7 separate regions of the Homo sapiens genome follow, and regions 2, 3, 4, 5, 6 and 7 are each linked to region 1. The links are contacts of gene promoters, found by promoter capture Hi-C in blood cells and fetal thymus (Javierre and others, 2016). All regions are on one chromosome and are shown on one strand. Each heading gives the region's core, a stretch centred on a gene start or on the middle of the fragment in contact. The rest is flanking DNA. Distances are from core to core; before and after follow the strand shown. Region 1 holds the start of CLSPN-AS1 (CLSPN antisense RNA 1). Region 2 has its middle 4.1 kb from the start of ZMYM4. Region 3 holds the start of ZMYM4-AS1 (ZMYM4 antisense RNA 1). Region 4 overlaps ZMYM4 (zinc finger MYM-type containing 4). Region 5 overlaps ZMYM4 (zinc finger MYM-type containing 4). Region 6 overlaps KIAA0319L (KIAA0319 like). Region 7 overlaps KIAA0319L (KIAA0319 like).

Region 1 (3,303 bases), core at 554-3,053:
GGGAATAGTGAAGAGCTTCATTTCTGGAGTTAAATATTCCTGGATTCAAATCCTACCTCTAACACTTAGGTATACAATCCTGGGCAACTAGAGAAAGCCAGAATTAACTACTCTGAGCCTTAGAACATAAAGTAAAACCAGCCACATATACTCATGAATACAGTCTCTACTGCCCAATAGTCTAAGATCTAAGTACACTGTCTCCCACCACCTCTGTGAAGCCTCTTTAAGACAGTATTAGACACAAGCTTATGATTAAGCTGCAACAGCTCCTGAAGGTTAGAGTCACCTCCAAAGCTCTACCACTAACAATCCAGGGGGCTAGACCCTAAGGAGAAACAAGAGCTCACCATTCTTCTGCAGTGCTTTGGCTGTAACTTTCTTGGCCAGTATCATAAACTGACTGTCCTCCCCAATTTCTTCTTCTTCTTCAGCTGTAATTTTCCCCTGCTGTGCCTGAAAAAAAAAAAAAATATATATATATATATATATATATATACAGCATTAAAAGTCTATAACCTTCCTAAATAGTTAGCATGGCCTGGATTGTGAAACTAGAGTTCCTGGGGTATTTGTTTTCCTTTTTGCAGCCTTTGCTGCTTTAGACAAAAAAAAATTAATCTTAGACAAACATGAAGAGAACTGTCTATGGTATAGCCTTCTCAAAACACAAAAGATAGCTCAAGGATTAAAAGAGATAGCAATATGTTGCCTAAGATTTTGAAACTATCATGACAAGCTAAGATTTTGAAACTATCATGACAAGCTAAGGGACAGTCTCATAAACTAGGGTCAGAGTAGGTGAACTCCTACCATGTCCCGAAGCCACTGCTCTCGTTCAATTCGCTCCTTCCTCCACCTGGCTTCTGACTCATCAAGCTGTTCTTCAGTCTGATCATCATCAGAGTCTCTGTGGAACAAGTCCATCTGGGAAGCATCATCTAAACAAAGAGTGAAGGTAATCAGCATTCGGCAGTCCTCACAGGAGAGGGTGCTTGGACAGACAAAAAATAAACCCTTATCATTTACTATATAATGATGTAAACTTTTCCCATCCATTAACAGAAAACAGTTACAACTAGGTCTTCACATAGCCTGTTATAGTTTTGCTTGCCATTTGCCATCTGAAACTCGACAAATATGCATTGTAACTGTTTGCTTTTTTTTTTTTTTTTTTGAGATGGAGTCTCGCTCTGTCGCCCAGGCTGGAGTGCAATGGCATGATCTCTGCTCACTGCAACCTCCGTCTCCCGGGTTCACGCAATTCTCCTGCCTCAGCCTCCTGAGTAGCTGGGATTACAGGCGCGTGCCATCACAGCCTGCTAATTTTTGAACTTTTAGTAGGGACGGGGTTTCACCATGTTGTTCAGGCTGGTCCTGAACTCCTGACCTTGTGATCCACCTGCCTCTGCCTCCCAAAGTGTTGGGATTACAGGCGTGAGCCACCATGCTCAGCCCGTAACTGATTGCTTTTAAAGACAACAACCAAGATACCTATGTTTTTCCATCGAAACTTCCTCATTCGCCCAGGACCATCGCTGTGCAGATCCCCATCAGCAAGGTACCTCTCTTGGTATAAACGTAGCTGTCGCTTATCATCATCCAACATAGTTTTCCTGCAACAGGAGAAATAAGGTGTTCAAAACAAGGACCATTCTGGCTGGTTACAGGGCTTGTCTTAAGATGTACCCTATTACTCAGAAGGGCTTATTGGGATACTGACATGTGTATTTTCTTGATTTGACTCTGCAGTTCCTCATCAGAAGGAAGTACTTCATCAATTACGTCCTCTTCATATTCATCAATTTCTTCCCCATCATACTCATCTTCGCTTCCCACATCACTTCCTGACACCTCTGCCTCATCCTCCAGGTATTTCCTCAACCTCCTAGAAAGCAATTTTGAGGATTAGAAAATGCAACAATGAATATACTCACAGAATATGGAAGCAAAGAAAAGCAGAACAGAGTCACTTCTAATAATAATAAACATAATACATTTGATAATATTTAAATTTTTTTGTAATAGTCTCCACTTATGATGGTTTGACTTAATGATTTTTCAACTTTACGATGACATGAATGTGATACGCACTTAGTATGCTTCTCGATTTACGATGGAGTTATATCTGGATAATATGAAAGTGCATTTTCAACTTATGATGGATTGATCAGGATATAGTCCCATTGTAAGATGTGGAGCATCTGTATTTAAAAGTTGATCACTTAATATGTCTTGTGTGCTAATAACTGTGCTTTACAGGCATTAACATATTATCATAGGAATGGGTACTATTATTCTCTTCATTTTACAGTTGAGGGAATTGAGCCTCAGAAAGATTACATTTACCCAAGGTCACATAGCTAGAAGGTAGCAGAGCCTGGATTCAACTTAGATTGGGTGATTTGAAAGCCAGAAAACTCTTAATCTCTTTTACATGTATTAGAATACCTGCTGGAAGGTTCAAACTATTTCATTTTGCATTTGAGCACACCAGCTTTAAGAGACAAACTAGAGATGGTGTGGTGTAGAAAGGTAATAAACTGGGATCTTCTTACAGCCTAACAAATCTTGACCCCCACATCAGAAGGAAGACTAAGGCTCAGAGCTCCTGGTAATCAAAACGACTAGTTACTTCTTATGACTTCAGCTCCCCCGGAGAATAAATCTGGTGTCACCCTGGATTCAAAGTCACCTTGGTCCCATGTGGTCCAAAATGGCAGAAGTTTGGTGGCTTTCTGAAAACTGATTTTTATCGAAGACCTATACTGTATTTTCTCTTTTTTTTTTTTTTTGAGATGAAGTGTCGCTCTGTCGCCTAGGCTGGAGTGCAGAGATGCCATCTCGGCTCACTGCAACCTCCACCTCCTGGGTTCAAGTGATTCTCATGCCTCAACCTCCCGAGTAGCTGGGATTACAGGTGCGTGCCACCATGCCTGGCTAATTTTTGTTTTTTTAGTAGAGATAGGGTTTCACCATGTTGGCCAGGGTGGTCTTGAACTCCTGACCTCAGGGGATCTGTCCATCTCAGCCTCCCAAAGTGCTGGGATTACAGGCATGAGCCACCACGCCCAGCCTATACTGTATTTTCTTAAAGCTAAGTTGTTCTAAATCCTAGAGTTCCTGGAAAATTCCTTCAGAGGCCACTAGTCACTAAGTTTCCCAAACTTCCCACTTACCATCTTTGAACAGTTCAACTTTTATCTGTCATTCTTTAAAAGATTTTATTTGAACAAAGAGCTCTGCAGAGAAGAACCACTACCTTAGAAAAATCTATGGATAACCTAAAGCTGTATGAGAGTT
Region 2 (3,303 bases), core at 213-2,712, 480 kb before region 1:
GATTCCCATCTTTTAAAAAAAGATTTCTTGGGCCACATTCCTCTCCAATAGCACTCTATCTCTCTAATCTTTTTCAAAGTGAAACTTCTTGAAAGAATTGTTCACATTCACTGTTTCTATGTCTTCATCTCTTATTCTCTCTTCCAGCCACTCCAATCATGCTTATGTTTAAACAAATCCACTGAAATAATTCTAGTCCAGATCACTAAAGATCTTTCAATCGTATCATCAATTCTTGGGCCTCATCTTACTTGTCCTCTCAGTGACATCTGAAAAATTAGTAATTGAGCCTCTCCCAAAACAGTCTTTATTTGGTTACTGAGACCACAAATTCTCCTGACTTTCCTGCTACTTGGCTGATTCTCTTTCTCTTCCTGAGCTGTAAATGTCGGGGTGCCTCCGGATTCATTTCAATATACGTGCTCTTGGTAACTCTATCAAGTCTATGGCTTATATCAATGACTCTCATATTTCTATCTCTAGCCCTGTTATCTCTCCTAAGCTTCAGATTTGAATATCTAACTGCTATTCGACATTTCCACTTGGATGTCTAGAGGCATCTCAAATTTATCATGTCCAAGACATCTTCCTTCTTTCTCTGCCCACTTTCTCACATCTGCTCTCTTTTTTTGCATTTCAAATAATGGGCAACAGCATTAACCTATCTATTCAGGCTAAAAAGCTAAGAATCATCCCTAAATCACTTTTTCTTTCACTCCCAGCACCCAATTCATTAGCAGCAATTCCATGGGCTACGCCTTCAAAATACATATATTCTGAATCTAATTTTTACTATCTCCAACGCCAATGCCCTAGGCTAAGTCATTGTTATCTCTTACCTGGACTGCCACAAAGCCTCGTAACTTACATCCACCCTTGCTCCTTTATGGCTTATTCTGCAATGCACATGGTATCCAGAGGGTTCACATCATTTTTTTTTTTTTCAAAGACTTCAATGGCTTTACATCATACACAGAAAATTACAAATCCTTACCATGGCATCCAAGGATCTTCATAATTTGTCTTTGTCTGCTTCTCTGACTTCATCTTCTGCCCCATCTCACTTGGTCCTAGTAACATCGGCACCTTGCTTTTCTTGAACACTTCAAGTTTGTTCCTGCCAAGGGGTTTTACACTTGCTGCTCCCTTTGACTGGAATGCTCTGACCCAGACATTTGCACAGATGGCTCTCAGTCATGAGGTCATGATTTAAGTTTCAGTTCAAATGTCACCTCCTAGCCAGGTGCGATGGCTCACAGCTGTAATCTCAGCACTTTGGGAGGCCGAGGTAGAAGAATCACTTGAGCCCAGGAGTTTGAGGCTCCAGTGAGCTATGAAGGTGACACTGCACTCCAGCCTGGATGACAGAGCAAGATCCTGCCTCTTTTTTTTTTTTTTTTTTTGATACAGCGTCTCACTTTGTCGCCCAGACTGGAGTGCAGTGGCACGATCTTGGCTCACTACAACCTCTGCCTCCTGGGTTCAAGCAATTCTCCTGCCTCAGCCTCCCGAGTAGCTGGGATTACAGGCATGTGCCACCATGCCCAGCTAATTTTTGTATTTTTAGTAGAGACAGGGTTTCACCATGTTGGCCAGGCTGGTCTGGAACTCCCGACTTCAAGTGATCCACCTGCCTCGGCTCCCAAAGTGCGGGGATTACAGGCATGACCCACCGTGCCCAGCCAAAACCCTGCCTCCAAAAGAAAAGAAAAAGAAAAACAAAGTCACCTCCTCGGAAAATATTCACTGACTAACATATCTAAAGTAGCCCCACTACAGTTATTTTTTATCCCACTTGTTTTACTTTCTTCCTAACATTTTCTGAATGGATCTACCTAAATGTCCAATGTAGTTTAAAACATATTTGAATCTAATGGTTAGAATTCTGTTAGTTAATAATTTCTTTTGGAAAGAAACACTGTATCTTTCCTGTGGCTGCCCTCTCCCTCTGAGTGAGTATCTAAAATAACGTCTGCATTTATGAGGCATTATGACTTTGGGGAAGCCTGAGACCTTGAATCTATTCGGAGTCCCTGACCTCTCAGGATGCTCTACAGCCTGTTGTTAAGAGAGTGGAATGTTTTGTAGCCTGGCCTCGCTAAGTTTGCTCAGAGCCTGAAGGCAAACCACACAGCTCTTCCTGAGGTCTGGCTGTTACTACTTTTTGTTCCTGGCCCAGTGTAATTTACAGAGCTACTTCCTCCTATACTTGCCAGCCAGCATTCTTGGCTACTTTCCGTATTCTTCTACAGGGTATGTGGGAACTTCTGGATATCTTCTCTCGCAGGAGCTAAGGACCACTCACTTGCAGAGCTCCGCCCAAAACCCTGTACCTAATTTTGTGTATGTAATTCTGTGTTCTTTTTCTTAAAAACAAAACAAAACAAACAAACAAAAAAACCCTCCCTCTCCCCCCATCATGTAAGCTTCAAGATCTGTAAAACCTGGATTCATCTCTGGCTGAGAGACACTCTGAGGAGCTAAATGCAGACCTGCTCTTTTTTCCCAACTACATCAGGGCATGACTTTTGCTCATATGTGGCTGTCTGCTTGTTGGTATGGGCATAGTCTGCAAGTCATCTCTACTTGGAATCTTAAACAGGAGCAGAGTAAGAATCCTCTCTGCCTTGAAGAGCTGGAATGGGAAGACAGGAGCACATGTCTCTCAATGATGCCTCTCTTACTTTTCTCTTTGTTCTTCTTCTCTCTACCCTTTTATTAAAAGAGTCAGACTTTTCTTTTATTTCCCTATATGCAGCCTCATGGCTTAGCTGTCCTGGATGGAAGGATATTTGGGTGGAAGGCATTTCCTGTGGAGTATGTAAAAACTCTATGAAATTATTATGTGCTGAGCTTCATAGATTAAATGGAACTAAGAAAATTTAGCAAATTCTTTTTCTCTCCATTCTGTTCTCTCCTGATTGGGAAAATAAGTCTCAAGGCTACATTTCAAGCAAGAGTCTATGACAGAAGATGACTTAAGAAAGTTAAAAGAAATCTGTTTGATATTTGCAAGATACTAGCCCCATTATAGTCTAGTTTTTTTTTTTTTTTTTTTTTGAAACAAGTCAGAGCACTGAACTTGTAGGTGAAATATCCCATTTAAAATGTTGATATATGATTTAACTTTTTTTTTTTAAAAAAAAGATAATGGCCGGGCGCGGTGGCTCACGCCTGTAATCCCAGCACTTTGGGAGGCCGAGGCAGGCGGATCACAAGGTCAGGGGATCAAGACCCTCCTGGCTAACACAGTGAAACCCAGTCTGTACTAAAAATACAAAAAGTTAGCCGGGCATGGTGGCG
Region 3 (3,303 bases), core at 492-2,991, 370 kb before region 1:
GAGGAGTCCTTTTTGTTGTCAGCAATACCAGTCCTATAGGATCAGACCTTTGATAATTCTTCTAGAAATCCCCCAGAGCAGCTCTCATGTTATAAACTAGATATGTGATTCTTTCCTTCTTTTCTTTTTCTTGTCTTTTCCACACCCGTCTCCACCTTCCCTCCTTCTTTTAGAAGAGTATTGCCTTTCAAAATTGCATAATTTATTACTTTTATTCATTTCCCATGGACTGGAAAAGAGAACTCTAGTGTATTATATTATTAGTCTCAAAAAAGTACTATTAGCCTCTCATAAAATACTGATAGATTTTACAGTTGTGGTCAGTGTTTACTTTTGACCATCAGTTACCAGTAACTTCTTTCATGGTTCAATAAAATCATAGCTTTAGTTTATGGCACCTTTTCAAAACTTCCTTTGGCTTTTCTTTGTGCTTAATTTAGGTAGTTTTGCTTTTAGCTCACTTCCTAATTCTCTTTTTTACACAATTCATTTTGGTCCTAATTTCTTTACTTTACTATATAAACAAGGTGCTGAAATGTGTGTGTATGTATTTAACTTCCTCTACCCATTTGCTCTTGGTTATTTCTTCAGTTATGATATTCTGGATTTGCCAGTCATTGTCCGTCCTCCTGCCTCTATTACTGGCATAATGTCATTGGGTCTCACAGTTTCATTTCTTCATTCTAATTCTATTGCATGTTTCTATAATGTTTTCTGTAGTATTTTTACAGTTACAGATGCTTTTACACGTACTGTGTTGCTTAATTCGCCTAACAACCCTGTATAAGATGGCCAGAGTAGAGGATGTTAACATTTATAGGTGAGAGAGCTGAGAGATATAGAGATTTAGTTACTCAAGCCCTCATGGCCAGGAAGGAGCCAATCTGGGGTCATAATCAAAGTCTTTTTTTTTTTTTTTTTTTTTTTTAGTCTACCAATCTTTCTGTAAATAAAAGTTGTTTAATTTTAAAAATACCAAGGGAAGGTTTCAAAATAGATACTTTAAAGAGAGCCAGAGACCTCATTTTCCTCTTTTGCCTTTTCCATAGGGTCTAAAAACTGTACATTCAGTAAATACTACATTAAAGTCATGATTTCTTTTTCTTCTTGTTCATAATAATAGAGGACGAGCTAATGTGTAGTCTCTCATTGAAAGAACTCAATTAAAATGGGAAAGCAAATGAACTAATTGTCATAATAGTCATTCACACAGTTTTGGAAAGAAAATGTAGTAATTCAAATGTTGGGGCTCTTTTAGCCATATTGAGTTAATTTGGCAATAGAAACTGTGTTATTCATTTCTAAAATACTTTCATGGGATATTAATATTGATCTTCATTTGTAGTAAACTAAGAAGGTAAAGGTATTGGTAAAGGAATTTTTTTGTGTTTTGGCATGTGTTTTTCTGCTTCTGAAAGCTTTTGGGTTACCAATTAGATATTTACTTCTCAGAAAATATTTATTAGTATTTGGCTACTCATTGATTTGTTTATCAAATACTTGTAAAATTAGTGATCATGGGAGGATCCAAACATAAACCAAACATGATTGTGCCTTGAAGGCATTGTGGACCATACAAACAGTACTTAAGATGTATACTATTTTACTATATTACATAAATAATACGTACTCAAGGCTAAAGGAATCCAGCAGAAGTTTGCAATAGCCATCACAGAGACTAAGAGAGCTGACTGCAGACCGTTAATGTATGCCAATGAGTATTGGTTGTTTCTGGAGTTTTCTGAGATTAAAATAAAAATATTTAAGGAAATTTTCTTTAATACACTATATAATGAAGGAATGTCATGATTAGTCGATGTTAGAAAATCTTTTAATACATATATTTCATCAGCAGGTCAAATAAGGGTATCTGTAATAGTCACTTTATTAGATGCCAAAAGACATCTCATGTAATTCAGACATTTCTTAGAATAGATTTTTTCTTGATCATAGTAAGGAACTACTACTTCAGATCAGTAACAGTTATTGAAGTTGAAGTAAAATGATGGAAATCTTCTGTTAATATTACTAAAAGAATACAAGTTGCGGATGTCATCGTTATTATTTAACTCTTGTTGGATTTTTACTTCAATCCATGTTAAAGAAATTAGAAGAAAAAATAATGGAAAAAGGGAAATAAAATTATCACTTGCTATTAAGAATATTTATGAAAGAATTAATAGAATTCATGAAAATTTAGTGGAGTACCTAGTTGAATTATACCAATACTTCTATAAATAAACTTCCCAGTTAGATGATATAATGAAAAAGATACACTATTCCCAGCAGCAACTAAAAAGTACTTATATCAAATACAACTTGAAATAATGAAGAGACCATCTTTTTAAATGTAAGAAATATGTAGATGTCAGTTATTTTTAAATTAAGATTTAAGGCCAGGTGCGGTGGCTCACGCCTGTAATCCTAACACTTTGGGAGGCCAAGCGGGGGGCGAATCACTTGAGGTCAGGAGTTCAAGACCAGCCTGGCCAACATGGTGAAACCCTGTCTCTACTAAAAAATACAAAAATTACAGAAATTAGCCGGGCGTGGTGGTGCATGCCTGTAATCACAGCTACTCGGGAGACTGAGACAGGAGGATCACTCGAGCCTGGGAGGTGGAGGTTGCAGTGAGCCAAGATCGCACCATCGTGCCCCAGCTTGTGGGATAAGAGTGAAACTCCATCTCAAAAAAAAAAAAAAAAATTGAGATTTAGATTTGATGCAATTCTGATGAAAATATCAATGGTTAGGTTATGAAGTTTTGTAGAAGAATAATAGGCATGCACATACACACACTTATTACACATATATTCTAAAAAATGGATGGAGAGGTTGAATGTGGCAAATGCTGTTAAATGGTTGAACATCATACAATTAATTAATTTTTTTTTTTTTTAAAAGACAGAGTTTCACTCTTGTTGCTCAGGCTGGAGTGCAATGGTGCAATATTGGCTCGCTGCAACCTCTGCCCTCCCACCACCCTGGGTTCAAGCGATTCTCCTGCCTCAGCCTCCTGAGTAGCTGGGATTACAGGCGTGCACCACCACACCCCGCTGATTTCTGTAATTTTAGTAGAGACAGGGTTTCACCATGTTGGCCAGGCTGGTCTCAGACTCCTAACCTCAGGTGATCCACCCACCTCGGCCTCCCAAGGTGATTGGATTACAGGTGTGAGCCACCACGTCTGGCCATAAGTATCCTACAATTAGTTTCGTTAGGATAGCATGATATCATAAGATTAGTCAGACTGAAAATGATATAGAAGAGATAGCCCAAAAACAGACATTATTTTTTAAGAAT
Region 4 (3,303 bases), core at 346-2,845, 340 kb before region 1:
TATTTACTTGCTATGTCCTCCATGTAATTCCAATATGACATTTCCTTTAATATTATAATATTTCTTATAATTACAATGAGATTTTTAAAAATGTTTTTGGTTTCTAATTTGTTTTTTTACTAGGCAAGTACTCAAACAGATGCCCTGAAACTGCCACCTTCCCAACCTCCAAGGCTTTTGAAGAACAAAGCTTTATTATGCAAACCCATCACACAGACTAAAGCCACCTCTTGCAAACCACATACCCAAAACAAAGAATGCCAGACAGGTATGTTCCTTGGTCTTTCTTTCTTTATTAATTTTTTAAGGGAAAGAAATGTAGGATCTACTTACATTGAGTACCTGCTATTTCCTAGGTGATGTGTTTGGTTGTTTGTATACATTGCCCAATTTAGTTCTCACAGCATCCCCGTGAGTTAGGTATTTTCCGCATCTGAGGCTTAACAAGTTGGGTCAAAGAGAAGGAAGTTAATCAGTGATACCATACTGTGAGCAAGTCATTTAATTCTCTTATTAATGACAATGTAATATTATAGAATAAGCATAAGGTTTGGAATTACATGGACAGGCTTCTAAGGAGGTGCTATTGTTTTCCAGTGTGACCTTAGGTTTGAACTACTCCACAGTCTCTTGGCTACTCCACACTGTTTCAAATGAAGTCAGTTCCTTTGAGGAGAGCTTCAGAGCTTTCTTTTTTTTTTTTTTTTTTTTTTTTTTTTTTATGAACTGCCTCTCCCCCTAGGCAGAATCTCTGAGCCACCTCTATGGATGCTGGGCAGGGTAGTAGTCTCTGGCCTTCTTGGCTTGCCTCCCCTGGCATGGAACTTCTGCCCTACAAGTGAGCTGGGGTGAGGGTGATCAGGATCCCAGTGTTCTTGGCCTGCTTTTCCTAGGGTAGAGCCTCCATCCAGTGGATGGAAACTGGGTGAAGGGAAGCCCCTGACCTCTTGCCCGTACTCACCAGGAATTTAGCCTCTTCAGCTTTCAGTTGGAGCGGATGAGAAATGCTTGTGGCCTCCCTTTCTTGATGAGATACAGTAACACTTGATTGGGAGCTGAGTGGAGAGAAGCCCATTTTTATTGGCCACAGCTACCCATAGTGGAGTTTCTGTCAAGCTGAGCTGAATTGAGCTGGGGGGATAAAGCCTGTGATGGCTGAAATGTCACAGACTTTCACTGTTCTTACCAAATTTGAACAGATTGTCTTGAATAAATGTTTCTTCATTTGGTATATGCCTTTAGGACAATTTCCCAAGAATTTAAATGGCTGTTTTTAAATAGTTTCACTTTCTTTGCTTGTTTCACTAAGGAATAGATCTTTGTAGCTCCTCATGCTGCCATCCAAAAGTCCTAGAATTTTGGCCGATTGCAGTGGCTCACACCTGTAATCCCAGCAGTTTGGGAGGCTGAGGCAGGAGGATCACTTGAGCCCAAGAGTTCAAGACCAGCACGGGCAACATAGCGAGACCATCTCTACTAAAAAATTTTTAAAAGTCCCAGAATTTTTAAACTAGAAGGAAATTCTTGATTTCTAGAGCTGCAAGGCTATCCTGTCAGCCATTGCTTCTCAAAGATTAATATGCACATGAATTATCCAGGAATTTTACTAAGTAGATTCTTATTCAGTGAGGCCTGAGATTTTGCATTTCTTATAAGCTCCCAGGTAAAGTCAGTGCTTCTGGTTCATGGACCACACCAAAATAGCAAGGCTCTAAATGATTTAGTTCTTTTTTTTTTTTTTTAATCAATAGCAGTTTATTTAGTATTATGTAGTTTGGTTATCAGATGTTTCTAAATCAAGTAACAATTTTTTAATGTCCGCTGTATTATGTAAAGTTTGTTGGCCAAATGTGGTGCCTCATGCCTATACTCCCAGCACTTTGGACAGCTGAGGCGGGAGGATCACTTGAGCCCAGGAGTTCAAGACCAGCCTGGGCAACATGGTGGGACCCCCATCTGTTAAAAAAAAAAATTTATGCCATATTATTTTCCCACTTCTAACTCTAGTCAAATTGTTAGCTCTTCTCTTTCTGTCCCTAGTATTACCTTTCTCCTAGATTAATGATTTTACACTTATCTAGCATATTCTCTGACACATAGAAAGGACTCTATATGCTCCTTGACTTATAATGTTGTACCCATCATATGTTAAAAAAATCATGAGTCAGAAATGCATTTAATATGCCCAACCTCCAGAACATCATCATAACTGGGCCTAGGCTATTTTAAACATGCCCAGAACATTTACATTAGCCTACAGTTGGGCAAAGTCATCTAACACAAAGTTTATTTTATAATAAAGTTTTGAATACCATGTAATTCATTCAGTGCTATACAGAAGTATGGTATATACTTGTTTTTGCACCATCATAAAGTTGGAAAATCCTGTATTGAACCATCGTTAAGTTGGGGACCGTCTGGTTAAATAATGGAATAAATCATCCATCTTGCTACTTTCTCCAAGTTTTTTTCCAAGTTCTGTTTCATCCTTTTAATACTTAGAACATCTGCTATATATATTTATTCTTTTTTGTAGGTATCATAACCTAGAGTAGTCTCCCATCATCTTAGCTCTACATATTATAATTGCCTCCTATTTTAACAGTTGATATATTTTTTATTCAGTGCTGAAATTGTTGCCAAATTAATCTTTTTTGATGTCATTTTCATCACTACTTTGTGTTAAAAAAATCTTCAGTAGCTACAAATGATTTTGAAATGTGCATTATAGCATGATGGAAATGGCCCCTCCCTATTCAGCCTCCTCTTTAGCAAGTGGTTTTCCATGCCTGTCTTCTAGGTTCCCTGTTTCAATCCTTTCAATTTATCCATCTAAATTATATCCTGCATTCATTTTCTCCTCACATCACTGATATTTGTTACCCACTTTTTGTCAGTGCTATACTCAAGATTTATTTTTTTGGCTACTTTAGTTATTTCTCCTTTGTAAGAAGTCCTGTAGTGTCATAGGTTACTCTTATTTTGAACTATAAACCTCCATAAGCTTTTTTATTTTGAAATCTTATGAAAGCATTTCTAACCCTCTTTGCTTTTTGTGATTTTGTTGTTGTTACTGTTAGAAGACACTCCAAGTCAGCCCCAGATTATTGTGGTGCCAGTTCCCGTACCAGTGTTTGTTCCCATACCTCTTCACCTTTATACTCAATATGCTCCAGTCCCATTTGGAATTCCAGTTCCAGTGAGTAATCATTTAGAGATTAAAGCTAATATAGCATGCATTTTCCTCAATTAAAACTGTATAGTTCTGTGAAGAAAGTTTTCATTTGTTAGTAAAATATACCT
Region 5 (3,303 bases), core at 511-3,010, 330 kb before region 1:
GTTTGTTTTTTTGAGACGGAGTCTCACTCTGTCGCCCAGGCTGGAGTGCAGTGGCACAATCTCAGCTCACTGCAAGCTCCGCCTCCTGGGTTCAACGCCATTCTCCTGCCTCAGCCTCCGAAGTAGCTGGGACTACAGGCGCCCGCCACCGCGCCCAGCTAATTTTTTTTTTTTTTGTATTTTTAGTAGAGACAGGGTTTCACCGTGGTCTCGATCTCCTGACCTTGTGATCCGCCCGCCTTAGCCTCCCAAAGTGCTGGGATTACAGGCATGAGCCACCGCACCTGGCGGGACTTTCTTAATTTCCTGTTTGGATTGTTCATTGCTAGCTTGAAATACAGCTGATTTTTGTGTATTGCTTATATGCTGCAACTTGGCTGGATTCACTTATTAGCTCTAATAATTCATTTTTCTGTGTATTCTCTAAGATTTTCTATATATAGGATTCTGTCACCTGCAACTAGAGATAATTTTACTTCTTCCTTTCCTATTTGAATGCGTTATATTTATTTTTCTTGCCTGGCTGCTCTGCTAGGATTCGCGGTACAGTGTTGACGAAGAATGGCAAGGATAGGCATTCTTGTCTTGTTCCTGGTTAAGGGGGAAGAGACTTTTTTTAAACATGTATGTTGCGTTATATGTACTGATATATTTCTGTAACTGTACAAAACTCACTTCTGCATAATGGAATTTCTTAAAGATTGGAAATATTTTTGCATATGAATAGTAGTTGACTTTGTGTGATGAGTTTGAATGAGTTTGAATAGTCTACTTTTTCTTTATTTTGAACTTTTTCAATAACGAAGATATATTTTTAAGCTTGAAAGTGACTATATTAAAAGAAGAAAAAGAGGAATACTGTTGAACAACAAACTGTAATCTGCCAATAAGTTCATAAATTGCCTTTGAGGAGGCCTCATAAAAATGCCTATTGAAGTGGTAATTTTTGTTAGCCAGAATAAATTTAAATGGAAATAATTTTCTCCAAATCATACATAGAAATGCAAGAAACCAAGATAGCCACAGAAATATAAATTAAAAATACTAAACCTTAAAAACACCAAAATACTTTTATCACGTAATTACATGCTGCCTTGGATTCCGTTACTACTCATGGTGTGTCCCTGTCTCAATTGATTTTATCTGACCTGCGCCGTCAGTACTTTTTAAAAGAGACAGGGTCTTGCTCTGTTACCCAGGCTGAAGTGCAGTGATATGATCATAGCTTGCTGCAGTCTCAAACTCCCAGGTTCAAACAACCCTCCTGCCTCAGACTCCCAAGCAGTTAGGACTACAGGCATGCACCACCACCCCTGGCTATTTGTTTTTAAATTTTTTGTAGAGATGGGTCTCACTGTGTTGCCCAGGTTAGTCTTGCACTATTGACCTCAAGTGATCCTCTCACCTTGGCCTCCCAAAGCACTGGGATTACCATTCCTGGCTCAATACATTTTTAAACTATAGGTATTCTTTTTGTTCTAGCCTATGATATGGTTGTTAATGGTTATAATTAACATAGTTCAATGTCCTATAATTAGACTTGAACTTTTTTGAGGGCTAGGTTGTGGGGCAGAGTTGAGAGCTGTAGTTAGAAGGCTCCAAATAAATAGTTTTTAAATTTGGGTTTCCTCAGGTCAACTGACATTAGCTAACTGTGTGATTGCAAGAAATGATCTTGTATCTAGGGTAAAAAACAAAAGAGCACATCTGCAGATACACATTATGAATCAGGAAAAACATGATTTGGAACGTGTGCATTGGAACCAAGTTTTAGTATGTCAGTTTTAGGAACTAAGTAAAGGGTTCTTCATAATACTTCTTCTGTACCATCCGTGTTTGAAAACGAAGTACAAAAACTTTACCTTGCAAGGTCAGTGCTGAAGATAATGTGTTAATAAGAACAGGAGCTTTAGCTTGAATTCTAGTGTTTTAACAACTATCTCTAAGGTACTGAGAGGTTAAACATGGTTTATAATATTGTAAGGGCAAAAATTAAGGGTAAACTGTATTTCTTACAATAATTTTTTAAGAACTCATGTTTTCTTTTTATCAACATGTATATTTTCTTTTTTTTTTCTTGTAGTACCTGTTTGAAAATGGTAGAATAGATAACATTTTTACTGAGCCCTATTCCAGATTTATGATTGAACTTACCAAACTCTTGAAAATATGGGAACCTACAATACTTCCTAATGGTAGGGTGATTTTTTTTTTATTGTTTTCATGATATGCTTTCTTAAATTGCTTAACTTTTTTGGTTATCTTTAAAAAAATTGTTCATTTTTATTTCTGTCCAGATTTATACCATATTTGGACTTCTGAGGAGACGGTCTTTGGTTTATTGTTGATTGTTTTAGGAAAACTGTACAAGTCATATAGCACATGTATAGATACTGATTGCAGAAAATATAAACTAATTTGAAGTTACATTTACCTTTTTAGAAACCATTTTTGATCTGGTAGCATTGGTGTAGCTTTCACATATCATATCTGCTAACAGTGGACCTTTTTTGGTAGTTTGTATGTATACTGAACTGTTGTTAAGAGAGTTAAGTCCTCGTCCTTGAATTATCTTTGACCAGATGTCATCAGACAAGTCCATAATTCACTCCAGGTCTCAGGCTGAGGTGAATGAAGAGGTTCAATGTTATGCTTAGTAATATATGCACCTTTCTGTTGGGCTGCAGAGCACCTTTAACAGTAAGCTTAATGATCTCCAACAGGAGTTTGCAAACTATGGTCCATGGGCCAAATCTGGCCTGCTCCCTGTTTTGCAATCTATGAGCTAAAAATTGTTTTTACATTTTTAAATAGTTGGGGAAATTTTTTTAAGAATTCCTATTTCATCATGTGAAAATTATATTAAATTCATGGCTGGGTGTGGTGGCTCACACCTGTGGTCCCAGGTGTGACTTTGGAAGGCTGAGGCAGGAGGATCACTTGAGCCCAGGAGTTCAAGATCAGCCTGGGCAACAAGGTGAAACTCTGTCTCTACAAAAAATAAAAAAAATTAGCTGGGCATGGTGGTGGTGCCTTGTAGTCCCAGCTACTCAGGAGGATGAGGTGGGAGAAGCACCTGAGCCCAGGAGTTTGAGGCTGCAGTGAGCCCTGATCGTGCCACTGCACTCCAGCCTGGGTGACAGAGTAAGACCCTGTCTCAAAAAAAAGAAAAGAAAATTATATGACTATAAATAAATTTTACTGGCATATAGCTCTGCCTGTTTATGTGTTCTCTACAGCTCCTTAGTTTCTACAGCAACAGCGTTGTTCAGAGCCTATATGGCCTACACATCCCAAAATATT
Region 6 (3,303 bases), core at 319-2,818, 300 kb before region 1:
TAAGGGTGGCAGTGCCCCGAGCTCTCCAGGCTGAGCGCATCCAGACCCTGATGCGCCTGCCATTCAGGACCACATGCGCCCAAGGACCTTGTCCATGTACAGCTGTGCCTGTGCCACATGCTCTGGGGCTTGGGCAGGGAGCTTCCTCACCCGCGTTGGTGTCAGGGTTACAGTTCTGGGTCTTGACTGAACCTCTCCTACTGAGTCTTCGGGCAGCGGAGCAGCAGGGCCACAGAAGAACACTGACCGCCAGGACATCTCCAGTGTGGTGGGGACAGTGGAAAGGGCCCTGGCAAGGGCCCAGGTCCTCCAAAGGCCCTGCCTCACCCCTTGAAATACCCACCTGTTCACAGCTGCCTCCTTCCCAAAGCCCCTCTGGCTATAGCAGTGAGGACAGGAGCCTAGGTTCAACCTAATATACTTCAATAGAAAGTTTTAGAAAAAAAATCAATAGAAAACAAAAACAACAACAAAAAACAACAGCAACAAGAGAAAACAAAGCCATAGCTGCTGAATGTAAAGGGGGCCTCCTGAGGGGGGCAGCCCTACACTTACCAGGTGGCACTGCTCTCCTTCCTCAGTTACTGTTCATCCTCAGCCTAAACTGGCTCCTGGCAAACTGTCCGTCCAGACTCCCGCGCACACACATCCTCTTTCCCCCCAACGGACCCACTCAGTTTACCCTTCTTCCAGCTAAACTTCTTCAGTTCCATACCTGACACCATATGGTCTTGAATCTCATTCTCCTCGTCCTCCTAGTGACTCTACTCTAGGCTGGACCTGCTAACCCACTGAGCCCAGAACAAGAACCAGTGCTTCCGGCCTGCTCAGACCCACACCGAACCTGAGCGGGCTCTCCCAGCTCCCTTCGGTAGACACTGCCCACAAGAGACCAGCCCTGCTGCCCTCACCTGGTCGCACGTTGTTGGTTTTGGTCACCTAGATGCCACTGGAACACCCCATGGCTCTCCCCTCTCCCTAAGATGTCCGATGTGCTGAGCTCAGGCTCCCATCCAATCTCACCTCTGCAGCGCGGCACTTCTCCGGGCCATCACCGCCCGTTTCTCCCCTCCTGCCTCAGAAGAGGCATCTGAACTCCATGCTCCCTTTCTCTCCTCTCTTCCCTTCTCCCTCCTTCCTCCTCAGTCAGGAAGCACCTCTCCAACGCACCACTCCTCTACCTGCATTCGACATTGCCACCCACAGATCTGTTCATGAGCCCTTCTCTGAGGAAGAGGAGGCCCTTGCCCTCTGCCTGCCATCCTGCTTCTCTAGCTTTCACTGCTCAGCTTCTAAAAGGATTTTTAAATATTCAGGGCCTTCATCTCCTCACTGCGCTTTCTAAATCACCTGCGCTTTCACTTCCACTGTCACTCCCCACTCTACTGCAGCTCTCTGATGGGCCAGGAGCTTCTCTGGTGCTATCAATTCTGATTCTTTGGCCTTTGCAGCAGCAAACACCGACGGCTGTCCCCTAATGAATCCCCTCCTCCCTCCTGGATGGTCATTCTTGGGGTCCTCAACCCTAGGCCTCTTCTTTTGTCCTTCAACATTCCCCCATAAGGGATGTGACCCTTTGTGGTGCTGATCCTCACCAGCAGATGGGAGATTCCTATTTCTACAGTTCCATGTCTGACTCTTCTGCTGAGTTCCATTTAATTCATCTTCTCTTACCCAGTCACTGCATCAGAGGTTCTGATTCTGTCAACAGCACTATCATTCTCCATCTCTCGGTTGGAAGTCAGCCCTGACCTTGCCAGACCTAGCTATAACCCACTGACACCACGCTGTGTGAATCACTGTCAGCTCCTCCTTGGACCAAAAATCTCCTTGCTGGTCTCCACACTTGTAGCCACTCCCCTTCAATTATTATATGTTGTCACCAGACTGATTTTCCTAAACCAGCTTATCCAAGACTTTGCTTCCCAGCATCACCAGGATAAATGTTTAACTCTGCAGGCTGATAGTCAAACTTTCACAATTTGGGCCTTGTCAATCTTTCATTCTCATTCCCTCAACTCCATTCATAACTGTCTTGCACCAAACACTTGATCTCCACCATTTCTTCTCCAGTCTCTCCCATCTCAGGGATACTACCACCACCCAACCCACAGAGGCTCAGTGCTGAAGCTGGGAGCCATCCTTCCTTTCTCCCTTCTCCCACACGCCTTGGCCAGCAGACCACTAACCTCATCAAGTCTTCCTCAAAAATGTATCTAGAATCTATCTGCCTCTCAACCCCAAGGACATTCTATCTAACTTCCTTTCAGCTAGCCTTTCCCCTCCAACCCCTGCATCTGTCAGCCACAGTTATCTTTTTTTTTTTTTTTTTTTTTTTTTTGAGACAGAGTCTGGCTTTATTGCCCAGGTTGGAGTGATCTCAGTTCACTGAAACCTTCACACCCCCAGGTTCTAGCAATTCTCCTGCCTTGGCCTCTCGAGTAGCTGGGATTACAGGCACCCACCACCACGCCCAGCTACACAGTTGTCTTTTTAAAATATAAACCAAGACCGGGTGCCATGGCTCACACCTATAATCCCAGCACTTTAGGAGACCAAGGCAGGCAGATCACTTAAGCCCAGGAGTTCAAGAACAGCCTAGGCAACATGATGAAACCCCGTCTCTACCAAAAATACAAAACAACAACAACAACAACAAAAAAACCTGGGGATGGTGGCGCATGCCTGTGGTCCCAGCTACTTAGGAAGCTGAGGTGGAAGGATCACCTGAGCCCAGGAGGTCAAGACTGCAGTGGGCCTTGATCGCACCACTGCACTCCTGCCTGGGTGATAAGAGTGAGACTCTGTCTCAAATAATAATAAATGTAAACCAAATCCCACCATTCATCCCCTTAAAAAGCTATCAGTGGCTCCCCATTGTACTCAAGAGAAGTCCTCAGCAGGGACCCTGCTCATCCATTGAGCCTTGGGTCACTCACCCCTTACTCTGTGGGAAGGTGAACCTGTCCATCATGTCACCTTCTTCTACCTCCTCAAATGCTCTCTGCTCCTTCTAGCAGCTGGGTCTGCACCAGTTTTGTTCCTTTGCCTGGAATGCTATTTCCTGCAGCTTTATCTGGCTAGCTCCCACTTATCCAGGTCTCAGCTTAAGTGTTTTTCTTCATAAAGGCCTTTTATGAGCATATTTTATGTATTTGTGAGTTTGCTTAATGTCTGTCTGACATAAGCTACACAAGAGTGAAGTCTGTCCGTTTGATTCACCACAATATAAGCAGTGTCTGGCACAGGGCCTGGCACATAGTGGTCCCGCTCCATATCCACAGATGAATGAGACAGCCCCTG
Region 7 (3,303 bases), core at 596-3,095, 280 kb before region 1:
CTAGCCAATCTACTCTAACTTGTTATAGAGCTCACTAAGATTTGCACCCTTGTAGCTTCTAAATAGTTTGACTCTCTGGAGTCATCCAGAACAACTAACATTTCTCAGCCTTTTCCTCTAATACTAAACATTTAAGATAATTTTTTTTTTTTTTTTTTTTTTTTTGAGATGGAGTCTTGCTCTGTCACCCAGGCTGGAGTGCAATGGCGTGATCTCGGCTCACTGCAACCTCCGCCTCCTAGGTTCAAGGGATTCTCCTGCCTCAGCCTCCCAAGTAGCTGGGATTACAGGCGCACGCCACTACGCCCGGCTAATTTTTTTATCTTTAGTAGAGACGGGGTTTCACAATGTTGGCCAGGCTGGTCTCGAACTCCTGACCTCATGATCCGCCCGCCTCAGCTTCCCAAAGTGCTGGGATTACAGGCGTGAGCCACCATACCCGGCCAAGATAAAGATTTTTGCTACCACGTTAATCAAAGGCCCCTAAAGCTTTCTCAGTTTGTTTGGAGGTTTCTAAAAATGCAGTCCAGCAGCTCTACTTCTCTTGGGCAAGAAAAAATAGGAACCATTCCCTCCTACCTGCATCTCCACCACTTTCCCTTTGCTGCTTGGGCTGAGTGACCACTCATAGCTGGTGATGCCATGATCATCAGTGCTCTGGTTCCCAAAGAGGGTGATGGAGTTTTGGGGCAGGGTGATCACTTGGTTGGGGCCTGCGTTGGCCACAGGGGGGTAATCCACAGCTTTGTTCACTGTCAGGTTTGCAGTAGTAGAGTTGGTAGCTCCATCAGAGTCTACTACAGTCAAGCTATCAGGGCAGAGAGAGGAGTGTGATCAGGGACGGGTTTAAGGAAAGAGGAATAAACACTAGAAGACTGAAAATTAAGGCTAAGAAATACCAATGTGGCAAGGTTACCTATTCTTACCCACTTCTATTGGAGAAGCAGAAAGTACTACTAGAAGCTAACACTGACTGAAGTTTTATGATGTGCTAGGCACTGCTCCAAGTTCTTTATATCTCATTAAATCCTCACAACAATTCTATAAAGTATCATCCTCATTTTACTCCTCACATATATGAGGAGAAAGACAGAGAGGCCAGGTGCGTTGGCACACACCTGTAATCCCAGCACTTTGGGAGGCCAAGGCGTGCGGATCACCTGAGGTTGGAAGTTTGAGACCAGCCTGGCCAACATGGTGAAACCCCATCTCTACTAAAAATACAAAAATTAGCCAGGCATGGTGGTGCAGGCCTATAATCCAGCTACTTGGGAGGCTGAGGCAAGAGAATTTCTTGAACCCGGGAGGCGGACGTTGCAGTGAGCTGTGATTGCACCACTGCACTCCAGCCTGGGAGACAGAGGGAAACTTCATTTAAAAAAAAAAAGAAAAAGGAAGGAAGGAAGGAAGGAGAGATGGAGGGAAGGAGGAAGGGAGGGAAGGAAGGAGGGAGGGAGGGAGGGAGGGAAAGAAGGAAGGAATGAAGGAAGGAAGGAAGGAAGGAAGGAAGGAAGGAAGGAAGGAAGGAAGCAAGCTTGCCCAAGGTCATACAGCTTGAAAGCAGTGGAGTCAGGTTCTGATCCAGGCAATATGTCTCCAGCGCCATTTTGTCCTGCTGCTGCCTGCACGCATCTGTGTCCTGAGGTCTCTATAAGAATTGTCTGATATGGCCCTCATAACAACCATATAGAGTAGGCATCATTGATTCCAGTTTTATAAGAGGCTTAGAGAGGCTAAGTAACCCACCCAAGGGCTATATAGTGAGCCAAGATGCAAGCATAGTTCTCTGATTCCAAAGCTCAGAAACCAAATCTTAAGAAGAGGTAATTCTTAGTCCCTATTCCCGATTCCCTACGCTATGTAGTGCAAGCTCCGTCTGCAGCAGGCTGTTTTCCCATCATCCTGTTCCAGCTGTTTACACATCACAACGATGGACATCCTAGGCAGACAGCCTGCGGGACGAACCAGGAGGGCTGGCTCCAGTAAGGCAGGAGCTTGAGATGAAAATGAATTCTCCTACGCAACAGTCCCACAATTTGTGCCAGTGAGACACAGGATTTGCAAAAAAAAAAAAAAAGAAAGAAAGAAAATAAAAAAAAATGTTCATTTATAAGAGCAGGCTTTTACCTAAATGATGCCTTCCAGCTGAACAGCCTAAAGCTTCTCATGCCACCTCAAAATGTGAGCATAAGCAAGCAAGGAGGTTTGGGATCTTTCCATTTTGCTGACAGAAAGAGGAAAAGCATAGAAAAGACATGTAGTTTGTTTAAATCTCACCACCAGCCACAGACAGGGCCAGACGTCAGTGAGGTTTTATCCTGCAGTCTCACCTTTTACCTATGGTGTGAAGGGGATTTTTGGTATTACAGCCTTTAGGAAAAAAGCACAAAAACCTCAGACACACAAACATGTACCAATCAGCAGATATCTGAAAAACAAAAATTTACAGAAGTTTTGCCTCTTTTCCTAGTTTCTCTGTTGTTTTCACAGGTTTGGGTTTTTTTGTTTTGTTTTTTTTCTGAGACGGAGTCTCGCTCTGTCGCCCAGGCTGGAGTGCAGTGGTGCGATCTCGGCTCACTGCAAGCTCCGCCTACTGGGTTCACGCCATTCTCCTGCCTCAGCCTCCTGAGTAGCTGGGACTACAGCTACCTGCCACCATGCTCAGCTAATTTTTTTGTATTTTTAGTAGAGACGGGGTTTCACCTTGTTAGCCAGGCTGGTCTCGATCTCCTGACCTCATGATCCACCCGCCTCAGCCTCCCAAAGTGATGGGATTACAGGCATGAGCCACTGCGCCCAGCCTGTTTTTTGTTTTTAACATATGCCATTTGTCTCCTATGTCAGGACAAAAGCACCTTATAGACAGACGGCAAAATGGCAGCTGCCCATTTTCTCTTTCACCTCAAACAGTCCCTGGCTTGCCTGCAAAGATCCTGAAACCAAACAGCAGCTGACTATAGGGCTGAGGAAAAAGGCTACTGCCATGTAAAAGAGAGAGGAAAAGGTGAGTGAATTACAACCTTAATGCTAATCAAATCAAATCATATCATTTCATAGATTTTTTTTAAAATGAAGGTTAGGAAAAAAAAATCACTCTCATACCCCATCCACTAAAAAACCTGTAGGTTAACCTTGTGGTTAAAAGCTTAGACTCTAGAGTTAGACTGTGTGACCTTGGGCAAGTTACTTAAACTCTTTGTGCCAAAATTTCCTAATCTGTAAAATGAGGATAACCATAATACCTGTTATAAGAATTAAATGCAATACTGCCAGCAAAGAGCTCAGAATAGTATTTAGCACATA

The links. Contacts are between HindIII fragments. The CHiCAGO score rates a contact against its expected background, and 5 or more counts as called.
Region 2: a contact is called between a fragment that was not itself captured here and the fragment with the promoter of CLSPN-AS1 in region 1, in 1 of 17 cell types (M2 macrophages). The highest score is 5.2, in M2 macrophages.
Region 3: the fragment with the promoter of ZMYM4-AS1 here is called in contact with the fragment with the promoter of CLSPN-AS1 in region 1 in 11 of 17 cell types (M2 macrophages, total CD4 T cells, total CD8 T cells and 8 more); the score reaches 7.6 in M2 macrophages.
Region 4: a contact is called between a fragment that was not itself captured here and the fragment with the promoter of CLSPN-AS1 in region 1, in 1 of 17 cell types (M2 macrophages). The highest score is 5.3, in M2 macrophages.
Region 5: a fragment that was not itself captured here is called in contact with the fragment with the promoter of CLSPN-AS1 in region 1 in 2 of 17 cell types (total CD8 T cells and endothelial precursors); the score reaches 6.1 in total CD8 T cells.
Region 6: a fragment that was not itself captured here is called in contact with the fragment with the promoter of CLSPN-AS1 in region 1 in 9 of 17 cell types (total CD8 T cells, naive CD4 T cells, naive CD8 T cells and 6 more); the score reaches 8.5 in total CD8 T cells.
Region 7: a contact is called between a fragment that was not itself captured here and the fragment with the promoter of CLSPN-AS1 in region 1, in 2 of 17 cell types (fetal thymus and total CD8 T cells). The highest score is 5.7, in fetal thymus.

The regions. Positions count from the first base shown.
Region 1 is chr1:35,737,642-35,740,944 of GRCh38, forward strand. It overlaps CLSPN-AS1 (CLSPN antisense RNA 1), which reads left to right and starts at 1,804. Exons shown (of 2, transcript NR_199043.1): 1 at 1,804-1,872. CLSPN (claspin) reads right to left here. Exons shown (of 25, transcript NM_022111.4): 19 at 1,724-1,888; 20 at 1,495-1,616; 21 at 814-941; 22 at 351-456. RefSeq lists enhancers at 653-1,154, 898-2,097. The HindIII fragment of the contact is 7,776 bases long and covers 247-3,303 here.
Region 2 is chr1:35,262,934-35,266,236 of GRCh38, forward strand. No RefSeq gene overlaps it. Among named protein-coding and RNA genes, the nearest start is that of ZMYM4, 4.1 kb to the right of the region's middle. The HindIII fragment of the contact is 1,924 bases long and covers 501-2,424 here.
Region 3 is chr1:35,364,336-35,367,638 of GRCh38, forward strand. It overlaps ZMYM4-AS1 (ZMYM4 antisense RNA 1), which reads right to left and starts at 1,742. Exons shown (of 2, transcript NR_046659.1): 1 at 1,631-1,742. All of the region lies in intron 5 of ZMYM4 (zinc finger MYM-type containing 4), which reads left to right. The HindIII fragment of the contact is 9,120 bases long and covers 1,417-3,303 here.
Region 4 is chr1:35,393,472-35,396,774 of GRCh38, forward strand. ZMYM4 (zinc finger MYM-type containing 4) reads left to right here. Exons shown (of 30, transcript NM_005095.3): 18 at 124-268; 19 at 3,081-3,199. Among named protein-coding and RNA genes, the nearest start is that of ZMYM4-AS1, 29 kb to the left of the region's middle. The HindIII fragment of the contact is 2,814 bases long and covers 189-3,002 here.
Region 5 is chr1:35,411,889-35,415,191 of GRCh38, forward strand. It overlaps ZMYM4 (zinc finger MYM-type containing 4), which reads left to right. Exons shown (of 30, transcript NM_005095.3): 27 at 2,084-2,195. Among named protein-coding and RNA genes, the nearest start is that of ZMYM4-AS1, 47 kb to the left of the region's middle. The HindIII fragment of the contact is 1,886 bases long and covers 818-2,703 here.
Region 6 is chr1:35,436,201-35,439,503 of GRCh38, forward strand. The region is part of intron 20 of KIAA0319L (KIAA0319 like); the gene reads right to left. Among named protein-coding and RNA genes, the nearest start is that of ZMYM4-AS1, 72 kb to the left of the region's middle. The HindIII fragment of the contact is 5,091 bases long and covers 1-3,303 here.
Region 7 is chr1:35,455,434-35,458,736 of GRCh38, forward strand. It overlaps KIAA0319L (KIAA0319 like), which reads right to left. Exons shown (of 21, transcript NM_024874.5): 10 at 580-808. Among named protein-coding and RNA genes, the nearest start is that of ZMYM4-AS1, 91 kb to the left of the region's middle. The HindIII fragment of the contact is 626 bases long and covers 1,533-2,158 here.